Linked DNA regions of Homo sapiens: region 2 is linked to region 1. Evidence: promoter capture Hi-C in human tissues and cell types (Jung and others, 2019). All regions are on one chromosome and are shown on one strand. Each heading gives the region's core, a stretch centred on a gene start or on the middle of the fragment in contact. The rest is flanking DNA. Distances are from core to core; before and after follow the strand shown. Region 1 holds the start of SCYL1 (SCY1 like pseudokinase 1). Region 2 holds the start of SNX32 (sorting nexin 32).

Evidence for each region. The method cuts DNA at HindIII sites, captures the fragments that hold promoters and counts their contacts. A contact is called where the count stands out against the background at its distance.
Region 2: a contact is called between the fragment with the promoter of SNX32 here and the fragment with the promoter of SCYL1 in region 1, in 2 of the 25 tissues and cell types used here (dorsolateral prefrontal cortex and spleen).

The regions. Positions count from the first base shown.
Region 1 is chr11:65,522,909-65,526,332 of GRCh38, reverse strand. SCYL1 (SCY1 like pseudokinase 1) reads right to left here and starts at 1,250. Exons shown (of 18, transcript NM_020680.4): 1 at 1,069-1,250; 2 at 619-759; 3 at 290-412; 4 at 1-209. The coding sequence starts at 1,179. RefSeq lists a silencer at 903-1,402. The HindIII fragment of the contact is 17,278 bases long and covers 1-3,424 here.
Region 2 is chr11:65,832,388-65,835,811 of GRCh38, reverse strand. SNX32 (sorting nexin 32) reads right to left here and starts at 1,849. Exons shown (of 13, transcript NM_152760.3): 1 at 1,711-1,849. The coding sequence starts at 1,746. It overlaps LOC124902693, which reads left to right and starts at 2,013. Exons shown (of 7, transcript XM_047427980.1): 1 at 2,013-3,424. The coding sequence starts at 2,301. RefSeq lists an enhancer at 1,768-1,857 and silencers at 1,782-1,994, 2,168-2,297. The HindIII fragment of the contact is 13,089 bases long and covers 1-3,424 here.

The DNA.
Region 1 (3,424 bases), core at 1-2,500:
CTGCCACTGCTGTCAGCCAACTCCGGGGGGTCATACTGCTCAAGCTCGGGGATCCCCTTGCGGGGAGGTCCCCCACCGTTGCCCTGGGCCGAATACATGTAGTCCAGGCCCCCAAGCTTCCACTCGCCAGCTCGGTCCACGAACACGGCGGCCATGCAGACATTGTTGTGGATGAGGCTGCAGTCGTTGACCAGGAAGCTGAGGGCTTTCTGGGGGCAAAAGGAGCCATCACGCCCCAGCACCTGCAACCCCCCATCCCTGCTCTCATCACCACTGCCCCCCACCTCACCACGATCTGGTGTAGCCCCCAGGAGATCTCCAGCTCCTTCAGGCCACCAGCCTCCACTCTCGCCTTGAGGTATATTCCCAACGGGGTCACAGCCTCTGTCACGACGTGGAGGCATTTTTCTGTCTGGGGAAGGGGACACAGGGTTATCAAGGGCGGAGGGGCAGAGAGGAAGGAGAGATAAGCGACTTGAAGTTGGGAGAGATGGGGAAGAGGAAACCAAATCTGGGGGTGCTGGGGCACATAGGGTGGAAACAGGGCAGGAGGGGAGACAGGAGTGGGTAACCAGGACATCGTGAGGGGCAGAGACGGGCAGGCAAGGCAGCAGGTACCTCCAGTCCATCGATGTAAGCCAGGATGTTGGGGTGCCGTAGAGTTTTGAAGCGCTTGAAGGCAGCTTTGGCCACCTGGGTCTGCTCTTCCGCGCCAGGCTTCACATCATAGACGAAGATGGACACGGGGCTGCCTGTGGCCTAGGGGAGGGCAGCGGGGCCTGAGATGGTCCCAGAGCTGTTGTGTGGCCGGAAGACAAGGGCCCGCAGCCAGGTCTCTCCCCAGGTCAGCCTTAGGGACACTTCGCCGGGCCCACGTGACCCCGGCCCTGTCCGCCTGTCGGTCCCTCGGTCCCTCCGCCCGCCACGTAGGCACTGCCCGCCCCCTCCCCGGCCTGCTACCCCTTGGTTCCGCCGCCACGTCAGGCCGGGCGCAACGCGACGGGGTCGGCGGCGCGGAATAGGCAAGGCCCAGGTCGACCGCGGCCTACGGAGCTCGGCCGCACTCACCTTCTTGCGGCCGCGGTGCAGGGCCCAGGGCCCGGGCAGGCCGCCCTCTGGGGGCTCCGGGATGAGCTCGAACGGAAAGTCCCGGACCGGGTCCCGGGCAAAGAACCACATCGTCCCCACCGCCGCCGCGGGTTCGGGCGCCTTAGCTCCGGGTCCTCCGGCCGCCCGAGCCGGGGCGGGGCGGAGAGGGGGCGGGGCCTGCGTCAGACGGGGGCGGGGCCCGGGGGCCAGGGCGGGGCCTACGTCGGGGCGGAGCAGGACGTGAATTGGGGCGGGGTGGGGCAGAACCTGAGTTGGGGCGGGAAGGGGCGGGGACAAGGGAGGGGCGGGAGAGGGGCGGGGATGGGGGGGCTAGGGAGGGGCGGGGATGGGGGGGCTAGGGAGGGGCGGGGATGGGGGGGCTAGGGAGGGGCGGGGCAGTCCGGGGCGGCGGGCGGTACTAAGATCAGTACTCCGCCGCCGGGTAAGTCACTTAAAACCCTCCAAGCCTGTGAGCCCTTTTATCTAAAGAGGCCTAAATCCTAAAGGATAATAGAGCCTGCCTTCTAGCGTACTGTAAGGATGAGAGCTTAAGAAGGGACAGAGGGATGGGGAAACCGAGGCAAAAAGGGGGAGAGGTAGAAAGACTGACAGGCATGAGAGGGTGCAGTGAGGAGTGAGGCAGAGACCCAGAGAGGGAGACTGGCCCCACGCCAGACACTCTCTCCCACCAGCAAGTGGGTGCCTCCAGGCTCCGGGGAGGAGTCGGTCCTGGTGAAGTGACCATGAGAGAAGCACGAGGAGACGCCCCAGAGAAAGAGCGTGGGTGAGAGGCAGAGAGTGAATCCAAGGTTCCAAGGAGGTCCAGAACCCCGGGGCAGGGGCGGGCACCCAGGGAATGGAGGAAGGAGAGACTGAGGAGGGAAGAAGAAGTGACCCCAGGAAAGGAGGGAGGGAGAAGGAGCAACTGGGCAGGTCTGGAAGAGGCCAAAGGGCTGGGAGGGGACCCTGCTCTCCTGGGCTCAGCTGCCCGGCTCTCAAGCCAACGGATTGCATCTCTCAGTGCCTGTGTAGACAGCCATGGAGTGGTGTTAGCTCAATCAGCACATCACACTGGTGGGGATCCAGCCCCTGAGCTGTGTAGGAGGGGCTGGACAGGCAGTGGTTCTTCTGCTGGTAGGGTCTCAGGACCCAGGCTTGGGGACAGTGCCTCAACCACAGCTATGGAGCACTGGTGAGATTCTGGGACTGGTTATGAAAAGTCTGGTTGGGATGCCTTTGGGAGATAACTCAAGGGCAGAGATGCCACAGTGAGACGGTGCTGGGTTTCAATCACGGTTCAGCCCCTCATTGGATGTGAGAACTCACACAGTTCCCTTTGGGTGCGTTAGGTCCCCCATCTATAAACTGGGGTGAGGGCCAGGCACAGTGGTTCACGCTTGTAATCTCAGCACTTTGGGAGGCCGAGGCTGGAGGATCACCTGAGGTCAGGAGTTCCAGGTCAGCCTGACCAACATGTTTGAAGGGGGCCTGCCCCTCCACACCTGTGGGTATTTCTCGTCAGGTGGAGACAAGAGACTGAGAAAAGAAATAAGACACAAAGTATAGAGAAAGAACAGTGGGCCCAGGGGACCGGCACACTCAGTATACGAGGACCTGCACCGGCGCTGGTCTCTCAGTTCCCTCAGTATTTACTGATTACTATTTTCACTATCTCTGCAAGGGGACTGCGGCAGAACAGGGTGATGGTGGGAAGAAGGTCAGCAGGAAAACATGTGAGTAAAGGAATCTGCATCATAAATAAGTTCAAGGGAAGGTACTGTGCCCGGATGTGCACGTAGGCTGGATTTATGTTTCTCTTTACCCAAACATCTCAGTGTAGCAAAGAGTAACAGAGCAGTATCACCGCTAGCATATCTCACCTCCAGCCATAGGGCAGTTTTCTCCTATCTCAGAATAGAATGACTGGTGGGCTTTACACCAAGACATTCCATTCCCAGGGACATACGGGAAACAGAGGCCTTCCTCTTATCTCAACCGCAAAGAGATCTTCCTCTTTTACTAATTCTCAGCACAGACCCTTTACGGGTGTCGGGCTGGGGGATGGTAAGGTCTTTCCCTTCCCACAAGGCCATATCAGGCTGTCTCAGTCGGGGAGACAATACCCAGGCTTTCTCGGGCAGAGGTCCCTGTGGCTTTGCACAGTGCATCATGTCCCTGGTTAATAGAGAATGGAGAATGGCGATGACTTTTACCAAGCATACTGCTTGCAAACATATAGTTAACAAGGCACATCCTGCACAGCCCTAAATCCCTTAAACCTTGATTCAATACAGCGCATGTTTCTGTGAGCACAGGGTTGGAACTAAAGTTACAG
Region 2 (3,424 bases), core at 600-3,099, 310 kb before region 1:
TTGGCTTCTCTGACACTCCCAAGGCAGGCTCTCCCCTTGCCCCAGACCCCAAACACATGCAGTCTGGCTAACTGGTGCAGCAGGTCCCCTAGTCCCCAGCCTCTTTCCTCCTGCCTTAGTATCTCTACTCTGACCTACACTGCTTGGTAGCTGCTTGAGGGAGATGGGCCTCAAAGGTGGACCACAGCTGCTCCATCCTCATCCTCAGCCACGGCCCACTATGCATATGCCTCCATCTCCCAAAAGGGTGCACCTCTCCATGCTCTAACCATCCTTGGCACAACGTGGATGCTCGACAACTCTTTGCTGAAGGAAGTCAAAAGGAAGAAATGGTCTTATCATTACATGAACTCAGAACACAAGTGAAGCCATTAGGGCTGAACAGGATTCTCTCGCCTTGGGAAAGGAGAAGAGGATGCCAGCCTCTGCTCAATCCCTAACATCCTGCCCTCCTCCCCGCCCTCACCTCCCACCCCCTACCCACCTACCCCCATCAAGACAGCCTGAGTTGGTCTTGGGGAGGGTAAGAGTGACAGTGACGGGTCCCTTTCCATCTGTAAGGACAAAGGCAAAACCCTGCCTCCCTTGGCATCCTCATCAGTCCGCACACAGGTGCCACAGAGGCTCCCCACTCCCTTGCTCAAGTCTCCTTTCTCTCACTTGCGCAGACACACACATACACACAGAGACACATGGGCACATACACACACACAGACACACGAGACAAACACAGACACACGCACACACAGACACACATAGAAACACACACAGATACACAGACACACACAAACACACAGGCACAGAGAAACACACACACAGACACACACAACGACATACACAGATCATACACAGGCACACAGACACACACAGATGCACACACAGACACACTGACATAGACACACACAGATATACAAAGACACACGGATACAGACACACACAGACACATGCAAACACACACACAGACCCAGAAATACACAGACACACACACACAGACACACGCAGACCATACACACACACAGAGACACACACACACAGACATAAAGATGCACGCAGACCATACATAGACACAGAGACAGACACACACTCAGACACAAAGAGACACAGACCTGCGCAGACACACACAGGCACATGCGTGCACACACAGATACACACAGAGACACACACAGATGCATACATGCACACATGCAGACCATACACACAGACAGACACAGACACAAAGACACACGCAGACCATACACAGACACAGACACACAGACACACACACACAGACATGCACAGACACACACAGAGACAGACACAGACATGCACGCACAAACACCCACATGGACGCATACGTGCACACACACAGACACACACAGGCCATACACACACACACAGAGACACGGAGACACACAGACACACACACAGATACACAGAGACACACAAAGACACAGACACACACTGAGACACACACAGACACACAGACACACAGAGACACAAATACAGACATACACAGATACACACACACACAGACATATGCAGGCACATCGACATACACACAGACACACAGAGAAACAGACACATGCAGACTATACACACACAGACACACACAGAAACACACAGAGGCAGACCACACACACACAGACACACACACACCACCGCATGATTGGGCATCACGGGCTTTCATGGAGTGAGGGGAGGCTGGGGTGGGGGTCTTCATCCTTTCTCTACCTTGCCCTCCTTCCCAACCTCCGCATACGTCTCCATCGCTCTCCTGGGCTTCAGCGTCCGGCCACTGCCCGCGTGCTCCCGCAGGTCGTCCCCGTAACTCGCCCGAGGAACTGACCGAGTGAGGATGCTCTCAGCTGACGGGGACGCTCTCCCCCGCCCGGCCAAGGAGTCGCCTGGAGTCGGGGGCGGTTCCCACCGCGTTTCCCTCAGCCACGCCTTTCGATTGGGTAGCGGGGCACCGCGCGTGACGCCATTGGCTGCATTGTCTGTCGTTCCTGTCCCAGGCCCCAGCTTTTAAGGGACACGCGGCACGGAGAGTGGGCCGGTGATAGGCGACAGTGTGGGAGCTGGGGTCAGAGTTCATAGGGTCGCAGAGGCCGCGTGCCGCGTCTCCCTCCAGTCCCCGGGGGACTGACCCCCACAACAACCCCGTGCCGCCGTTCCGGGCCCCTCCTTCCAACGGCCACGTGCGGCCTGCGCGTGCGCACTCGCCCAGTTTGGCGCCCACCAGGCAGTGGGGAAGGGGAAGGGGAAGGGGAAGAGGGTGAGGGTGGCAGGGTGGGGACAGGGAATGGGAAGCAGTGGTGGGGATGTGGGTGGTGGACCAGGGGCGAGGGCAGGGGACAATGTCTGTGGAGAAGGGGGGTCTGTTTAGGTTTCCGCTCTTGGACGGGAGGGAGCGGCGGGGTAAGCAGCCTAGGAGGACTAGGGAGCTCCACAAGTCCCGCGGCCAGGGCGCCCCAAGCGAGGCCGGGGTCCGCGAACGGTCGCCACTGGAGCGGGGCTGCAAGGGGGTGCCGATGCTGCGAGAGAAAACCTGGGGACCTTGGAACGGGCTCATGGTAATTGGGAAGAGAGTGGAGCTCCTGACTAGAAACACTCGAAAGCCGAAGCTGGAGTCTGAGTACTGGAGACTGGAAGATGTGGAAAAGACGGTCTTGAAAGGGAAGTCAGGCCCGAGTCAGGAAAGGATGGATGTGAAGCTGCTATACCGTGGAGCAAGTGCATCACAAGCTTCAGCAGATTTGGGGAAAGACAGCCCAAGGGGTATTTGGGGAAAGCAAGAGGTCAAACACGAAATAAAGGCTAAATCTAAGAGTGCAGGGATGACAGCAGGGCCTATGAAGGGGTCTGGGTTTGAAGAGAGGTTGAGGTCTGCTGGGGAGAAGGTAGGGACCAGTGGAGAGGACTTGAGATCCAATGGATATAAACTGGGACAGGATGAGAAGGGGTTGAGGTCTAGTGTAGACAAGATGAGATCAAGTGTAGAGAAGCTGAGGTCTACTAGTGAGAAGCTGGTGTGCAGGGGAGAGAAGCAGGGGTCCAGTGGAGTGAAGCTGAGGTCCAGTGGCAGAAAGCTGAGATCAAGTGGAGAGAATTTGAGATCAAGTAGAGAGAAGCTGAGATGGAGTGGAGAGAAGCTGGGAACTAGTGGAGAGAAGCTGGGAACCAGTGATGAGAAGCTGAGGTTGAGTGGAGAGATGCTGAGATCAATCAGAGAGAAGCTGAGGTTGAGTGGAGAGAAGCTGGGAACCAGTGATGAGAAGCTGAGGTTGAGTGGAGAGAAGCTGAGGTTGAGTGGAGAGAAGCTGAGATCAAGCAGAGAGAAGCTGAGGTTGAGTGGAGAGAAGCTGGGAACCAGTGATGAGAAGCTGAGGTTGAGTGGAGAGAAGCTAAGATCAAGCAGAGAGAAGCTGAGGTTGAGTGGAGAGAA